Linked DNA regions of Homo sapiens: all the other regions are linked to region 1. Evidence: promoter capture Hi-C in 16 types of primary human blood cells and fetal thymus (Javierre and others, 2016). All regions are on one chromosome and are shown on one strand. The core of a region is centred on a gene start or on the middle of the fragment in contact, and the rest is flanking DNA. Distances in the headings are between cores, read along the strand shown. Region 1 holds the start of FAM171A2 (family with sequence similarity 171 member A2). Region 2 overlaps HDAC5 (histone deacetylase 5). Region 3 overlaps HROB (homologous recombination factor with OB-fold). Region 4 holds the start of ASB16 (ankyrin repeat and SOCS box containing 16). Region 5 holds the start of ASB16-AS1 (ASB16 antisense RNA 1). Region 6 overlaps ATXN7L3-AS1 (ATXN7L3 antisense RNA 1).

The links. Contacts are between HindIII fragments. The CHiCAGO score rates a contact against its expected background, and 5 or more counts as called.
Region 2: a contact is called between a fragment that was not itself captured here and the fragment with the promoter of FAM171A2 in region 1, in 1 of 17 cell types (neutrophils). The highest score is 5.8, in neutrophils.
Region 3: a fragment that was not itself captured here is called in contact with the fragment with the promoter of FAM171A2 in region 1 in 2 of 17 cell types (neutrophils and erythroblasts); the score reaches 7.7 in neutrophils.
Region 4: the fragment with the promoter of ASB16 here is called in contact with the fragment with the promoter of FAM171A2 in region 1 in 1 of 17 cell types (neutrophils); the score reaches 5.5 in neutrophils.
Region 5: a contact is called between the fragment with the promoter of ASB16-AS1 here and the fragment with the promoter of FAM171A2 in region 1, in 1 of 17 cell types (neutrophils). The highest score is 5.9, in neutrophils.
Region 6: a contact is called between a fragment that was not itself captured here and the fragment with the promoter of FAM171A2 in region 1, in 12 of 17 cell types (erythroblasts, megakaryocytes, monocytes and 9 more). The highest score is 12.0, in erythroblasts.

What each region holds. Positions count from the first base shown.
Region 1 is chr17:44,362,585-44,365,120 of GRCh38, forward strand. It overlaps FAM171A2 (family with sequence similarity 171 member A2), which reads right to left and starts at 1,269. Exons shown (of 8, transcript NM_198475.3): 1 at 1,013-1,269. The coding sequence starts at 1,130. It also overlaps the pseudogene RPL7L1P5. RefSeq lists a silencer at 981-1,360. The HindIII fragment of the contact is 8,364 bases long and covers 1-2,536 here.
Region 2 is chr17:44,110,862-44,113,397 of GRCh38, forward strand. All of the region lies in intron 2 of HDAC5 (histone deacetylase 5), which reads right to left. Among named protein-coding and RNA genes, the nearest start is that of HDAC5, 12 kb to the right of the region's middle. RefSeq lists an enhancer at 1,153-1,653. The HindIII fragment of the contact is 4,795 bases long and covers 1-2,536 here.
Region 3 is chr17:44,153,342-44,155,877 of GRCh38, forward strand. HROB (homologous recombination factor with OB-fold) reads left to right here. Exons shown (of 10, transcript NM_001171251.3): 6 at 1,215-1,323; 7 at 1,512-1,597; 8 at 1,945-2,070. Among named protein-coding and RNA genes, the nearest start is that of HROB, 13 kb to the left of the region's middle. The HindIII fragment of the contact is 7,387 bases long and covers 1-2,536 here.
Region 4 is chr17:44,169,428-44,171,963 of GRCh38, forward strand. ASB16 (ankyrin repeat and SOCS box containing 16) reads left to right here and starts at 1,277. Exons shown (of 5, transcript NM_080863.5): 1 at 1,277-1,663. The coding sequence starts at 1,363. The HindIII fragment of the contact is 23,995 bases long and covers 1-2,536 here.
Region 5 is chr17:44,185,454-44,187,989 of GRCh38, forward strand. ASB16-AS1 (ASB16 antisense RNA 1) reads right to left here and starts at 1,264. Exons shown (of 3, transcript NR_049730.1): 1 at 1,112-1,264. TMUB2 (transmembrane and ubiquitin like domain containing 2) reads left to right here and starts at 1,519. Exons shown (of 4, transcript NM_001076674.3): 1 at 1,519-1,656; 2 at 2,223-2,290. The coding sequence starts at 2,256. RefSeq lists an enhancer at 843-1,377. The HindIII fragment of the contact is 11,845 bases long and covers 1-2,536 here.
Region 6 is chr17:44,201,892-44,204,427 of GRCh38, forward strand. All of the region lies in intron 1 of ATXN7L3-AS1 (ATXN7L3 antisense RNA 1), which reads left to right. Among named protein-coding and RNA genes, the nearest start is that of ATXN7L3, 3.3 kb to the left of the region's middle. The HindIII fragment of the contact is 2,500 bases long and covers 12-2,511 here.

The DNA.
Region 1 (2,536 bases), core at 19-2,518:
ACTCAGGACTGGAGTGGGCGGAGGCCCCCAAGCGTCCAGGCCTGCCTGTGGGATGTGTTGTCAGGGTCTTGCTCCCCCACCCTTTCCTGCTGCAGGAGCCGGCCCCACCCCCACCTCACACACCCACCTGCGCCCGGTGAGTCGCTGGGAAGGGTCTCCTCCACTGCGAAGATGTGAGATGAGGAGGGGGTGATATGGGGGCGGGCAGGGGACAGGAATGCCAGGAGGCCTGCTGAATGGGGGGGGACCCAGGCACCTGCCCTCCCAGCCGGCACTGCCCACAGCCAGCTAGCTCAGCATGGCTCCACGACCACAAGCCTGCCATGCTCCCTCAGCTGGGAATCACAATGTACCCCCTTTTCTTAGAGGCCCACAACTGCGGCTCGTCCTCCATCATAGGCTCACAAGCATTTATTTGGTGCACCCCAAACTCTAAACCAGGGGGGCTGGCTGGGAGCTGTCAGGCTCCAGGGCAAAGAACCCCATTAGAGCAGTCAATCCCGCCCACAGCCTCACCCACTCCCCCTTCTCCCCTCCCCCCTTCAAACCCAGCTCCAGGCTCCCAGCCTCCGGTCCCGGCCTAGGGTGGCAGCGGATGCCGGCGCCCCCACCCCGCCAGGGTCGGGAGCGAGCAACCCGCAGGGGGCTGCGGAGCAGGCGCCCGCCCCAGCCCGCCCCTGGGCGGGTGTCTTCGGTAGACAATGGCTCAGGCAGCAGCGCCTCGCGGACCAGGAGGGAGAAAAACAAATAGGGAGAGGGCGGCGGCGCAGATCCTGGGGACCCTCGCACTACCCATTGTGTCTCCCCAAGACCCCCGCCCCGGACGGCCTCCCTCTCCCCGCCTCCACTTTCCCCCAGAAGCGCCAACCCCAGATCGCTTAGCTCCCCCCACCCGAATCCAGGGAACAGAATACCACTCAATTCACGAACGCCGCGAAGAGGGGGCTGACGGGCGGGAGCCTGATCAGGGGGCGCAGGCCCGCGATCGCGGCCCCTCCCGGCTGAGACTCACCCTGCGGGCTGGGGGGCTCCGGCGGCGACTTGCCGGGAGCCCGGGAGGCGCTGCCGAGCAGCAGCCCCAGCAGCGGCAACAGCCGCGCGAGGACGCTGGGGCCACTCGCCGGCGGCATCGCGGGGCTAGGCCGGGCCCTAGCGGTCCATGGCTCCCGCCTGGTCCCGCTCGCCCGGCCCCGCGCAGCCCCAGCTCTGCGCCGCGCCTCGCAGCTCCGGCTCCCGCTCCCGCTGCGGCGCCCGCTCAGCGCGATTGTCTCCGACCGGAGCCGCCGCAAGCGCCCCCTGCAGGCGGCGCGCCACACCGCTGGCCCTCCGGCACCGCCCCCTCCCGGCCCCGCTCCGCCCGCCGCCCCCCGGTACTGCCCACCTTCAGCCCACCCCGCAGCCCCCGCGCTCTGCGCTCCCAGACTCTGCGCTGCAAAGGAGTGTCGGGATTAGGGTCCCATCACCCGGGTTCTTGGGTTTCGAGAGTCCCCAAAATTTGGTGCAAAATTTGTGTGTGTGTAGGTGGGGAGTGGATATTGCCTACAACACTCTCAAGGGGTACGGTCATGAAAGTCTCAGAAAACTGTAAGAACTCCCTGCTCGATGGCCCCCTTCTCCCGGTAGAACACCTAGGCAGTGCTGGGGTGATAGCAGGGAAGGCCCCCTAGACCCCCCTAAGTCTCTCTTTTTTTTTTTTTTGAGACAGATTTTTTTTTTTCAGAGACAAGTGAACATTTATTTTTGGGCCTTTCTTCCTATTTCAAGTCTTTTTCAAAACAAGGCCCCAAGAATCTCCAAATTCAATTATGTCCCTGGGCTTGGCCGACTGGTGCAGGAGTCTTAGGGAGCCTTGTACAAATGCTAGAGTTACTCACTTACCGACATTAAACTAAAACGCTGGAATTTTTCCTTGGAAACTGGACTGTGATTAGAGGTGCTTGCCATGAACATAAGCTACTGTTTCTTCTCCTTCTTTTTTTTTTTTTTTTTTTTTTTGAGAGAGAGTCTTGCTCTGTTGCCCAGGCTGGAGTGCAGTGGCGTGATCTTGGCTCACTGCAACCTCTGCCTCCCGGGTTCAAGTGATTCTCCTGCCTCAGCCTCCCAAGTAGCTGGGACTACAGGTGCACGCCACCATGCCCGGCTAATTTTTGTATTTTTAGTAGAGACAGCGTTTCACTATGTTGGCCAGGCTGGTCTCGAACTCCTGATCTCAAGTGATCTACCCGCCTCGGCCTCCCAAAGTGCTGGGATTACAGGCGTGAGCTTCTGTCTTTTCTTTGACCCTTCCTTTCCAGTTTTTGAAGATAAAGCTGGAAATAATCTTCTCTGAAGATACTTGATAAAAATTCCCAAAAAAACAAAAACACATGCTTCTACTACCCATGCTTCCACTTCATTAATAAAAATTTACTGCAGTTTGGCACCTGGGTCTAGTTCAGCTGGCGGATGAGCTGACTGATGCGTTCACCCTGATAGCCAGGTGTGCCCATCTCCTTGAGGAAGCCCACTGTATTTTTGGTAGCATGACGGGCCACTG
Region 2 (2,536 bases), core at 23-2,522, 250 kb before region 1:
CTTGGGCACCAGCAGCATGCCAGGGAGGGGGCCGCCAGAGGCGGGGAGCAGACCGAAGGGAAGGTGGTCGGGCAGCCCGCACAGCACAGGTTCCCTCAGGCCACTGCCGACGGGACCCACACTGTAGGGAAGTGCCTCATCCGGCCTGGGCACTCCTGGCGGCAGGAGGGGCAGGGAGGCCCTAGAGCTGCAGGCCCAGCTCTGCTCTAGAGGGGCATCCGACCACCAGCCTCTCCCTGGTTCCTGGGAGCTGGGGTATGGCTGAGCACTTGGGACAGGAAGGGGAGCTCAGCGGGCAGGCGGGCTCTGTGTTCCCTCCCAACCCTGGGTGACAGCTCTGGGCCCGGCTCCCTGCTCCTCCTTCCCGAATGAGCCGCCGCCGGCAGCTGGCAGGAGACTGAAATAGCAGTTGGGGGAGGGCCCTGTCTATAAATAGGTGGAGCATGCTCAGGGAGCTGCGGGCGGGCTGCCAGGAGGCCCCATGGGGGGGGAGGCGGTTCTACCCCAGGAGGAAGCGCCAGGCGAGGGGGATGGGAACAGGGGAGGGCCTGCACTCAGGGCCAAGGCCACAGCGCTGGGTGGCCAGAGGCTGGGCTGGGGAAGGGCGCCGGCCAGGGTACCCATGCATCTGGGAGCGGCTCTGGCTGCTACTCTTGGCAAGCAAGCCAGGGGATGGAGACCAAGAAGCCAGACTCAAGCCTCCGTCTTTCTTCTTGCCTTCCAGAACAGGTAAAGGAATTGGAAGGGTCTAGGAGAGGCTGGCACACAGGCACCTTCCCTGGAGTTCTAATAGCCCCATGGAGGTTTGCTTAACTTCTGCCCTCCCACAGAGTTGAGAGGTGCCTCCCCACCCCTTCAACCAGCAGAGAGACCCCTAAACACCTGCTAAATGGCAGCTCCCTCCCGCTCATTCTGGAGTGTCGCCTCCAGAGGCTGCTCAGCCTCAGCTTCTTTCTAGGGTGTAGGGATACTCCTCCTGGGCAGACAGGTGTCCCCTGGTCCCCTTTCCTCACCCCAATCCAGGAAAAGGGACCAGGGAACATCTGCTAATTCTCAGAGCACAGGTAGCTCCTCCATGGCAATGTGCCAGGTGCAGTGCTACGAACATCATATACATCATCTCATTAATTCTGCGTGGTGACCTTGGGAGAGGCACAGATGGGAAAACTGAGGCACAGGGAGATGAAGTCACTCACCCTAGGTCATAAAGCTGCTTACATGGCAGGGCTGGGATGTCTGAGGCTCAAGTCTGAGCTCTAACCACCACACTCCACTGCCTCCCATTTCCCAGGGTTTCTATTAACAGGTACAATGACCCCTGTGCTCAAGTAGGAAGAGACTTGAGGTTGGAACCTCGCTAAGGAGAGTCAAGAGTTTTTCAGCATCCAGCCATTACCCACCAGCCAGCCTCAGGCCTGGCAGCACAGCCCCTGCTCCCTGGGTCCTGGGGCTGGTGCACCATGAGGACCAGTGGCACTCCCCCGCCCTCCCCACCGCTGGCCTGCCCCTGCTCCTCAGGTTGTGCCTCCCACTGGTACAAAGATCCCACTTGGCCCCCTGACCTCACTAGAGCCTTTTAATAGCCTGGTTATTCCTGTGTCTATATCCCCCTCCCCCTTCCTGATGTCACAGTTGCTATTTTGGAGCCCCCTCCTTGACCCCCACTCCAGGCATGGAGCCAGGGACACCTGTCCTCTCTCTGGACTGGATGACCTCACCCTCTTGTTGGGAGCCCAGGAGAAGCTGGCCAACCAAGGACACAGTGGCTGTGGCTCCTGGAGCCCAATTTCCCAGCCAGCTTCTGCCAGTCAGGGATGGCAAAGGGGTCTCCTGCCCTCAGGCTGGGAGTGGGAGGATTAGGGGGACCACACCTATAGGCAGAGGCAGGCTTTCCCAGGCCCTTGACTAGCAAGATGTATATGTTGCCAGGGGGTACCCAGTGGTGGACCAGCAAAGAAACAGGGGTCTGGAGCTGCAGCTTCTAAACCAGGGCAGATTCTAGAAAAAGGGCAGTGGAACAGTACTCCCTCAGAGGCCTAGTGCTGGTGGACATTCAGGGTATGGCTGGGGATCTTGTTCACCACCCCTTGCCCCAACCTCATCCTGGCCAACCAGGCCCTCTCAAGAGGAAGGGAAGGGAAGGTCTCCATCAGTGGGGTGATGGGCAGCAGATTCAAGGGAGCCCAGAAAGCCAAGAGCAGCAACCCCTCCCAGCCCAGGACTCCTCCCACCCACGCTAGGAGTAACCAGAAGGGCTGGCTAGCCCTGTCCCAGCTCTCTCTGCCTGCCCCAGGCATAGGAGAGTGTGGCAGGAGAGCCTTATTCTAAAGAAGAGGAAGGCGTCAGTTACCAGGACTCAAAAGCAGGGCCCCCAGAACCTGGAGCACCCAGACATTGAAGGAAACAGGACTTCCTGCTTAGGGAAGATAGTAGCACCCAGGACAGGGACACCCAGAGGTGGCTGGAGCCGGGAGCTGGGGAGCCAGCTCCCAGCACCATTACAGCCTCCAACAAGTAGGAAGCAAAGTATCAGACA
Region 3 (2,536 bases), core at 27-2,526, 210 kb before region 1:
CTACTAGGGAGGCTGAGGCCAGAGGATCACTTGATCTTAGGAGGTTGAGGCTACAGTGAACTATGATCGTGCCACTGCCCTCCAGCCGGGGCAATAGAGCGAGAGCTTGTCTCCTTTAAAAAAAACCCAAGGCCGGGCGTGGTGGCTCACACCTATAATCTTGAGAGGTCAAGGCGGGCGGATCACCTGAGGTCGCGAGTTCAAGACCAGCCTGACCAACCTGGAGAAACCCTGTCTCTACTAAAAATACAAAATTAGCCGGACGTGTTGGCACATGCCTGTAATTCTAGCTACTCAGGAGGCTGAGGCAGGAGAATTGCTTGAACCTGGAAGGCAGAAGTTGCGGTGAGCCAAGATGTGCCATTGCACTCTAGCCTGGGCAATAAGAGTGAAACTCCGACTCAAGAAAAAAACAAAAACCAAACAGGTCAGGCGGGGTGGGTCACGCCTGTAATCCCAGCACTTTGGGAGGCTGAGGCGGGCAGATCACTTGAGGTCAGGAGTTCGAGACCAGCCTGGCCAACATGGTGAAACCCCCTCTATTGAAAATACAAAAATTAGCCAGGCTTGGTGGCACACGCCTGTAAGTCCAGCTACTCAGGAAGCTGAGGCTGGAGCATCGCTTGAACCCAGAGGCGGAGGTTGCAATGAGCCAAGGTCGTGCCATGGTACTCCAGCCTGGGCGACAGAGCGAGACTCCATCTCAAAAATAAAAAAATAGGCCGGGTGCGGTGGCTCATGCCTGTAATCCCAGCACTTTGGGAGGCCGAGGTGGGTGGATCACGAGGTCAGGAGTTCAAGACAAGCCTGGCCAACATGGTGAAACCCTGTCTCTACTAAAAATACAAAAATTAGCCGGGCGTGGTGGTGGGCGCCTGTAATCCCAGCTACTTGGGAGCCTGAGGCAGGAGAATCGCTTGAAACCAGAAGGTGGAGGTTGCAGTGAGCCAAGATTGTGCCATTGCACCCAGCCTGGGAGCGAAACTCCCTCTCAAAAAATAAAAAAGAACGGAGGCAGGGGAGAGAAATGAAGGACCTCCCAGCTCTAGGTCTGTCAGAGAGAGATGGGGTACCTCCTTGTCCTCCACAAAGAAGATCATCACTATAACTATACTCTGACCCCTCCTAACCCCGGTTGCCCTGGCACACTTGGAGACCTGGGAAGTCACAAGTGGGCCGTGGAAGGCTCAGCATATGCCTCTCCTTGTAAGCAGGCAGCCCTGAAGCAGCTTCCTAGGAACAAGGTCCCCAACATGGCGGTGATGATCAAGTCCCTGACTCGGAGCACAATGGACGCCAGTGTGGTTTTCAAGGACCCCACGGGTAAGGAATTAGGTCCTAGGTTGTCTGGTGAGTGGGCTCCATTGAGGCCAGGAAATGAGGTGGAATCACCCTCTCCCTTTGCAGACAGGAAAACTGAGGCAGTGAGCAGCCCACTTCCCAGCCAGGGCCCATACCAGTCGCTGTGCTGCCCTTGACCCCGAGACTGATGGGCCATGTGGTATTTGCAGGAGAGATGCAGGGGACGGTGCACAGGTTGCTGCTGGAGACGTGCCAGAATGAGCTGAAGCCTGGCTCAGTGCTGCTGCTGAAGCAGGTATGGGGAGCAGCTCTCCACACCACTGCCCCCCGGATAGAGCCCTCAGTGTCTGTCTCCTTACCTGTTTGGCTGCCTTCCTCTACAACACCAGGCACGGAGTGGCTGAACCATTGCTAGGCCCTGGCTTGAGCTCAGGGAAGGCCTGTGGCCCTTGAGCTGGCCCCCATTCTTCAGGGTGGATAGGGATGGAGGGTTGTGTTAAGGGGAGATTGTGGCAAATGGTTCTCTTCTGGCACCAAGGCTAGGCAGAGGACACCAAGTGAAAGGCAGGTGGGAGCCAGGTGTCCATCTGGCAGCTCCCAGTGCTCCATCAGGACACTGACCTTCCCTTTCCTTGACTCCAGATTGGAGTGTTTTCTCCTTCACTTCGAAATCACTACCTCAACGTGACACCCAACAACCTGGTCCATATTTACAGCCCGGATTCTGGGGATGGGAGCTTCCTCAAGCCATCTCAGCCCTTCCCCAAGGTAAGAGGAGCAGGAAGAAACGGGAGACTGGTAAGGCCCTCCTTCTGCCTGGATCTTCTGATTTCTTCCTCTCTTCCACCCTGGGGAGCAGAGGTCTGAAGGGGGCAGGTGCTCTGAGGTGAAAAGGTATCTTTGGGGACAGGACCATCTCCTATCCCTCATCCAGCCGCCTGGCAGATGGCTCAGTAACAGTACCTAGAGGAGCAGCTGGCTTCTTGGTGATCCCTGAGCATCTGATGGCAGGCTTGAACATCTGAGAGGATAGGAGTCACTTGAGAACTAACCAAGTGGAGGGCCCACCAGGGGGTGGTGGCAGTAAATGACCGAGGGTCAGATCTGCTACAGGTGGCAGTGTGGAGAACAGTGAGCTACAAATGGCCTGTCAGGTGAGCCAGCACCTGCTCTGTGTCTTCCCTCTTGGCATCTGCCTCTGCTAAATTAGGGGGAAGCTGCACAGAGCACTGGT
Region 4 (2,536 bases), core at 27-2,526, 190 kb before region 1:
GTCCTGCTTGGAGAATGGGGGAGGCTGCCAGGTGGCTGCAGCAGCTGAAGGCAAAAAGTGTACCATCTTTTTTTTTTTTTCTTCTTTTTTTAAGAGATGGAGAGGCAGGGGGTGGTGGCTCACGCCTATAATCCTAGCACTTTGGGAGGCCGAGGCGGGCAGACCACGAGGTCAGGAGTTCGAGACCAGCCTGGCCAACATGGTGAAACCCTAAATTAAATCTCTACTAAAAATACAAAATTTAGCTGGGCATGGTGGCGGGTGCCTATAATCCCAGCTACTCAGGAGGCTGAGGCAAGAGAATCGTTTGAGCCCGGGAGGCGGAGGTTGCAGTGAGCCAAGATCGTGCCATTGCACTCCAGCATGGGAGACAGGGTGAGACTCTGTCTCAAAAAAAAAAAAAAAAAAAAAAAAGATATAGGTCTCACTGTGTTGCCCAGGATTGTCTCAAACTCCTAGGCTCAAGCAATCCTCCTGTCTTGGCCTCCCAAAGTGCTAGGATTACAGGCATGAGCCACCATTCTTGGCCCAAAGCACACCATCTATGTGGGGTCCTGGCTCTGCCTCTCACAAACTGTGACCTTGAGCCAGTAGATTACTTTGTTAAGCCTTAAATTCCTCATCTGTAAAACAGAGATAAGACCACCCATCTCAGGGGCATTCAACTGTGATAATTTCATTTATTGTCCAAACCAAGTTTACTAATTATTGGGTGGGCTGGGAAGTATGATCCCCTGGGTGAAGGTGGATATGAATGTGATTTAAACACCGTGAAACTCTGTGCATATGTACAGAGTTATTGCTGTTACTGCAGATGCTGGGAAGAGCTGCTCACCTTCTCAGTAACTCTGCCTTGACCTCCCCTTACCTCCTGTGCTGAGGTCAGCCCTCTCTCCTCCACGTGGGCCAATGGTGGCTCCTGCCCTCCAGCCAACATCAGAGAGGCTGGAGGCACCTTGTCTTCCTCCCAGCCCTGCCCATCTCCATGACTGACCTTTTTGCGCACCCTGGACCTTGCCAACCCAAGATGCTCGCTCTAGAGATGAAGGTGGATGCAGATGCTGGGGTTCGGGGGTGGCCTCAGCTGAGGGCCTGCTGACCAACCAAAGGGTATCGGCAGGGGCAGGGGCTGGCCCTCACCCTGGGCTGGGGGTTGGGCCAGCAGCTTCTCAGCACCAGGATCATGACTCTGAGCAAACCATGTTTACCAGAGCAGCAAAGGACCTATTTATAGCCTCAGCTGCTGCTTTCTCTGGCTCACGGTGGCGGGGGCAGGGTGGCTCCTCAGAGCAAGGGAGGTAGTCGGGTCGAGGGAACCTGGCTCTGCCCAGGTGCCACTGCCCAAACCCCTGGGCCCCATCCATGGCAAGAGAGACCTTCCCCTTCACCTCCTCCATGCTGCGCTCTCTCCGCCTGCAGCAGGAGTGGCTGGAATGGGAGGACCGGCGGCGGGCGGCTGCCCAGCAGTGCCGGAGCCGCAGGTGCCCGTCAAGTCCCCGGGCCCGACTCACTAGGCCTCACCGTTCCTGCCGAGACCCAGCTGTCCACCAAGCCCTCTTCTCCGGCAACCTGCAGCAGGTCCAAGCCCTGTTCCAAGATGAAGAGGCCGCCAACATGATTGTGGAGACTGTGAGCAACCAGCTGGCCTGGTCGGCTGAACAGGGTAGGGGGCACCAGAAGAGGGCAGAAGAGGAGGGAGAAAGAAGGGGAGTGGGTGGGGAAGGGGGAGAGTCTAGGCCCCTCCTTCCCTGCAGACCACAGACTATAGCAGCCCTTTCCACCACCTATCCTAGCTCCCTCCTAAACAGAGATGAGGCAGGGTTAGCAGTCTGTATGTCTTTTAAGAATTAAAAGTTGACCGGGCACAGTGGCTCACGCCTGTAATCCCAGCACTTTGGGAGGCCAAGGCAGGCGGATCACGAAGTCAGAAGTTTGAGACCAGCCTGACCAACATGGTAAAACCCCATCTCTACTAAAAATAGAAAAATTAGCCGGGCATGGTGGTGCGCACCTGTAATCCCAGCTACTCAGCAGCTGAGGCAGAAGAATCACTTAAACCCGGGAGGCGGAGCTTGCAGTGAGCCAAGATAGCGCCACTGCATTCCAGCCTGGGGGACAGAGCGAGACCCTGCCTAAAAAAAAAAAAAAAAGAGACAAGGTCTCACTATGTTGCCCAGGCTCATCTCGAACTCCTGAGGTCAAGTGATCATCCCGCCTTGGCCTCCCAAAGTGCTAGGATTACAGGTGTGAGCCACCACCCCAGGCCCCAAGGTGAACAAGCCTTTGACACTATTAGCCATTCAAAGACGCTGAGATTTCCTTAATGGGAGTCACTCTACTTAGTTGGCCCCTGTGGTTTTATACAGCAATTAATTTTTTTATGACACATACTATGTTTTGTTACAGATTGATAAGCTGTATTAAAAGGCTGTTCCAATTTATTCTTCCACTTCAGGACTTGAATAAGCCCCCTTCCACAGGTACAGCCTGGCAGTGTTTGTGCTCAGCAAACCATGCAGAGGGAAGGCCAGTGTCA
Region 5 (2,536 bases), core at 14-2,513, 180 kb before region 1:
AGCTGGCGTGCAGTGGCTCCATCTCAGCTCACTGCAACCTCCGCCTCCCAGGTTCAAGCCATTCTCCTGCCTCAGCCTTCTGAGTAGCCAGGATTACAGGCGTGCGCCACCACGCCCGGCTAATTTTTGTATTTTTAGTAGAGACGGGATTTCACCATGTTACCCAGGCTGGTCTTGAACTCCTGACCTTGTGATCCGCCTGCCTTAGCCTCCTAACGTGTTGGGATTACAGGCGTGAGCCACCGCGCCAGTCCTAATTATCTATTTCTTGATCTAAGTGCTACTTCTGCCAGTGTTCAGTTGGTAGAAGCCACCGAGCTTTTTGCTTATGTTTGCCCCTGTCTGGATTATTTATCCTTTAATCAGTAGTTCTCCAAAACCCCAAACTCCAGCGCTTTTTTTTTTTTTTTTGGAGACAAGGCCTCCCTGTCGGGTGCAATGCAGTGGCTCAGATCATAGCTCACTGCAGCCTCGAACTCCTGAGCTCAAGCGATCCTCCCACCTCTGCCTCCCAAAGCGGTGGGATTACAAGAGTAAGCCACTCCCCCCGGCCACAGTAAGTTTTTAGAAAAAATTTTAATTGCGGCCGAGCGCGGTAGCTCACGCCTGTAATGCCAGCACTTTGGGAGGCCGAGACGGGGGCGGATCACCTGAGGTCGGGAGTTCGAGACCAGCCTGACCAACATGGAGAAACCCTGTCTCTACTAAAATACAAAATTAGCGGGGCGTGGTGGCGCATGCCTGTAATCCCAGCTACTCGGCAGGCTGAGGCAAAAGAATCGCTTGAACCCGGGGGGGCGGAGGTTGCAGTGAGCCGAGATCGCGCCATTGCACTCCAGCCTGGGCAACAAGAGCGGAACTCCCGTCTCAAAAAAGAAAAAATTTTAACTGCAAAAATCTGGATAAGTTCTTGAAAGCTGGACTTTTCCCCCTTTTTGTGTCCTAAGCCTGCGCCGAATCTGTGCCTTCTTTGAAATGCTTTCCCGCCTTCTTTCTCCGGGTCCCACACTACCTGGGGCCGCACTCTTCAAGCACTGGATGCTGACTAACTGGTCTCCTTATCTGTCTTCCCGACTGGCCCAGAGCTGAGTTCTTACTAATCCCCGCTAACCTGGAGTTAGGTGCGCGTTGCAAAGCAGTAACGAATCCAATCAGCCGGGGAGGCAGACAGCAGGGCCGGAAGAACAAAGCTGGAAAGGGAAACGTCGCACCGGCTCTGCCCAGCGGCGCCAGCCCGGGCAACCTTCCGCAGTCGCGAAGCCACGCCCCTTTCCCAAGTACCTCCGCGCTAACTCCTCCCCCCTGGCCCCGCCTCTCACCCTGGATTGCCTAAGGCCCCGCCCACCAGGCGTGGCCCCGCTCTGGGAGGGCCGCAATCCCGCCAACAATGACTCCACCCCTCCTTCCGCTGAGAAACCTGTCCCTTTTATTTAAAGAATACCTTTTACGTCAGCCCGTCTTACGCAGCTTCGCGTCATCAGTGCAAGGCGCGGAGGCGGGACTTCCTGTCCCTGGTATAACAGCTTCCGGGAGAAGCCGGAAGAGACCGGACCCTGAACAGAATCGCAGATTGCCAGCCCTTTTCCCGACCCCTACGGAAAGACGAGTCCAGGGGCCGTCCTGGCGAGGTCAAAACATTTAGTCTGGTCTTTTCAGGTGAGGACTTCCCCATCCAGGCACAGTGCCGGTCCAATCCCCCTTTAATTTCCCATGACTCCTCGCGTCCTGAAGCCCCGCCCCCAGTTCCCCAGCCCCGCCCCGAAGTTTGAGGGGTGTGGACGGTTTGTGACCCCCTTAGCCGACCCTACTCCTCACTGGCCGGGACAACTGGTCTTATCACGGAGGCTGGGGCCAGGCAGCCCTTCGGTTCGGGTGGGCCCATGGACCCCAGTCCAACGCCGAGGGAATAGGACCATCCAAAAGCGGAACCTTCGCCTCAGAAAAAGGGTGCGGGACCCCTCCTCACCGTGCGGTCACGGTACGGACAGGGTAGATCACAGGCTGAGGGACAGAGCAAAGACCCCTGAGGCCGGACACCTGGGGTCCTGCCGGGCCCCTCCCCACGAGAGTTCCCTGTGTCTGTGCCAATCGTTTTCGTCTTTCTTTGCCGCAGTTTCTTTTCCTGTAAATCATGGTTAATAACATTAACCTTCTTACCATCAGGGGTTAGTTGTGGTTGTGATAAATAATTACTACCGTTATTAAGCAATTGCAATTTGCAGTGTGCCAGGCACTGTGCCAAGTATTTTGCTTCGATGATTTCACGTCATCTTCAAAACAACCTCATGAGGTAGGTACTGTTTTTAACCCCATTTTACTGATGAGAAAGCTGAGGCTCTGAGAAAGTTGTCTGAGGTGTTATAGCTAGTAAGACGCAAGACTGGGGTTATAATTAGTTGTTTTTCTAACTCCAGGGCCGGTATATTAAATAAGGATGTTGATGTGTTCCACAGATAATTCTTTGAGCAACTACTGGGGCATTATATTGGACACTTCAGTACCAAGAGAAATACATACGATCCTTGTCTACCAGGAG
Region 6 (2,536 bases), core at 12-2,511, 160 kb before region 1:
CCCCAACTGGAAGCTTCAGAAGCATGGATCAAGCTGGAACAGAGGAGTGGGTGGCAGAGCAGCAGGAGGTGAGCAGGCTGGATAATACAGGACAAAGCAAAGTAGGTGTTGAAAAGTTTGTGGGCTTTAGCCTGTAAGCTGTGAGGAGTCCTCAAGGGGAATCATTCACCAGACTTATATTTTTAGTGGATCATGCTGGAGTATGGTCTGGAGAATAATTTAGAAGCAGTAGGTTTTTTGTTTTGTTTTGTTTTGTTTTTTTAGACAGCATTTTGCTCTGTCACTCAGGTGCAATCTCAGCTCACGGCAACTTCTGCGTCCCGGGTTCAAGTGATTCTCATGCCTCAGCCTCCTGAATAGCTGGGATTACTGGCGCACGCCACCACGCTCGGCTAATTTTAGTTTTGTATTTTTAGTACAGACAGGGTTGCACCATGTTGGCCAGGCTGGTCTCGAACTTCTGACCTCAGGAGATCCGCCTGCCTCAGCCTCCCAAATGCTGGGATTACAGGCATAAACCACTGGGCCTGGCAAAAGCAGTAGGTTTTTGTTACTGATTGAGGTGTGTGGAGGAAAGGAGAGGGAGGTCTTGAAAACACCTTTACTAGGATGGGGAACTCAGGGGAGGACATGGGAGGACACAGGATGACTTCAGTCTGGGATATATTGAGGTTACTGTGGGATCAGCTGATGGAGACCCAAAAGGTGGTTGAACTCAGGTCTGGCACAGAGAAGTAAGCTAGGTCTTCAGGAACTTCAACAACATCGCCTCAACCTTTGTTTTCTCTTATCTCCCGCCTCCTTTTCAGGAATTCTTCACTCCAGTGATGCTGATCTGTTTCTTACCTAAATATGCCCAGTACATTCTGCCCTAAGGAATTTGCGCCATGGCCAGAAAATCCTCCTGGCTTCTCCCTGTTTACCTAAATCCTTCCTCATATCCCCACCCATGGCCATCCTCATACCAAACTTCTTTACAACTAGACTGTACTATTCATTCTGTGCTTGGCCTGGGCTGCTCTGTGGTGGTGACCTCTTTGGGCACGTGCCCAGTCTCCACAGTTAGCACCAGTTCATAAACACTAAGGCCTGAGCTGGTCCTGACTCTGGGTGAGGCCCTGGGGTTACAGCAACAAGCAAGAGAGACACACAAACCTTGTCCTAGCGCAGCTTACAGCCTAGCAAGGCCTGATGTGAAGGAAATAAGGCCTGAGTGTGAAGGCATTCAGGCTGCTGAAGAAACGTATAGTGTGGAGACCTTTTTTCTCAGGAGTTCAGGGAAGGAAGTGGTCTTTTAAGTGGAGACCAGAATTAACTAGGCAGAGAGAACACCATGTGTATAGGCCCTAGGAGAGAGCATGTTATGTTCGAGACATGAATGGTCAGTGTGGCTAGAGTCGGGGGAGGGCTAACGGGGGCAGCAGATCCCCAAGGGCCTTGTGGGCCAGACCTATTCACCCACTCAGCAAATCTTTCTTGATTGTCAAATGTATATCAGGCAGTTTCAGGTGCTGAGATTACTGTAATGAACAAGCAGATAAGGTGTCTTCTACTTGGGGAGATAGATAATAAACAAATACATAAACAAGAAGATGGAGGAGGCCTCTCTAGAGCAGGTGGTTGGGAAAGGCTTCTCTGTGAGAGGACATGTGAGTTGAGGCTTAAAGAATGAAAAAAAAAAATCAGGTATGTGTAGAGTTGGAGGAATAGCCATTCTAGGCAGAGAGAACAGGTGCCAAGACCCCGCAGGTAGGCATGTTTGAGGAACAGAAGAGATCACTTGGTTGGATCGTTGTAAGTGGTTAGGAAGAGCAGGGTGAGAGAAGATAAGAGAAGGAATGCGGGGGCCAAGCCTTGTAGGGCCATGGTAAGACATGGTAAATTTTCAGTACAGAAATAATCAGATTTATTTCTGAGATAATTTTGGCTGCCATGTGAAGAATGGGCTGTAGGGGGCGAGAGTGGAAGCAGGAAGACCAGCTTTAGGAGGTCTTTGCAGAAGTTGAGCAATGATGGTGGCCTGAAATAGGATGGGAGTGGCAGCTGTGGGAGCCACCCTGTGGGAGGGGTCGACAGATTTGAGACAGCTTTAGGAAGTGGAATGGAGAGGTCTAGGTGATTGAACCTCGAGGTGAAAGGGAGAGAGGAGTCAAGGCCAATACTCTGCTTTCTAGGTTGAACGACTAAGTGTTTGGTAATCATTTCGGGTCTTGAGGTATGAGATGTCTGCAAGATATCCCAGGGGATGCAAGGGTGTCTACACAGGTCTGCAGCTTGGAAGAGCAGTCTCTGTCGGCACCACCTTTCGGAATGGTTGCATATGCGTGATAATGGGAGGTTGAAGGGAGAGACATGAACACCTGGGATAAAATGAGGAAGAGCTGACACCAACAGAGTAGACCAAGAAGGCAAAAGACAAGACAAGTGTTCACCAGATGTAATGAACATGTTGGTGACCTTAGCAAGGAACCTCAAAGGATGGTGGTAAGTGGGAGGCCAAGAGGCACAACAAGCTTTTTAGCAGTTTGGCCACTAT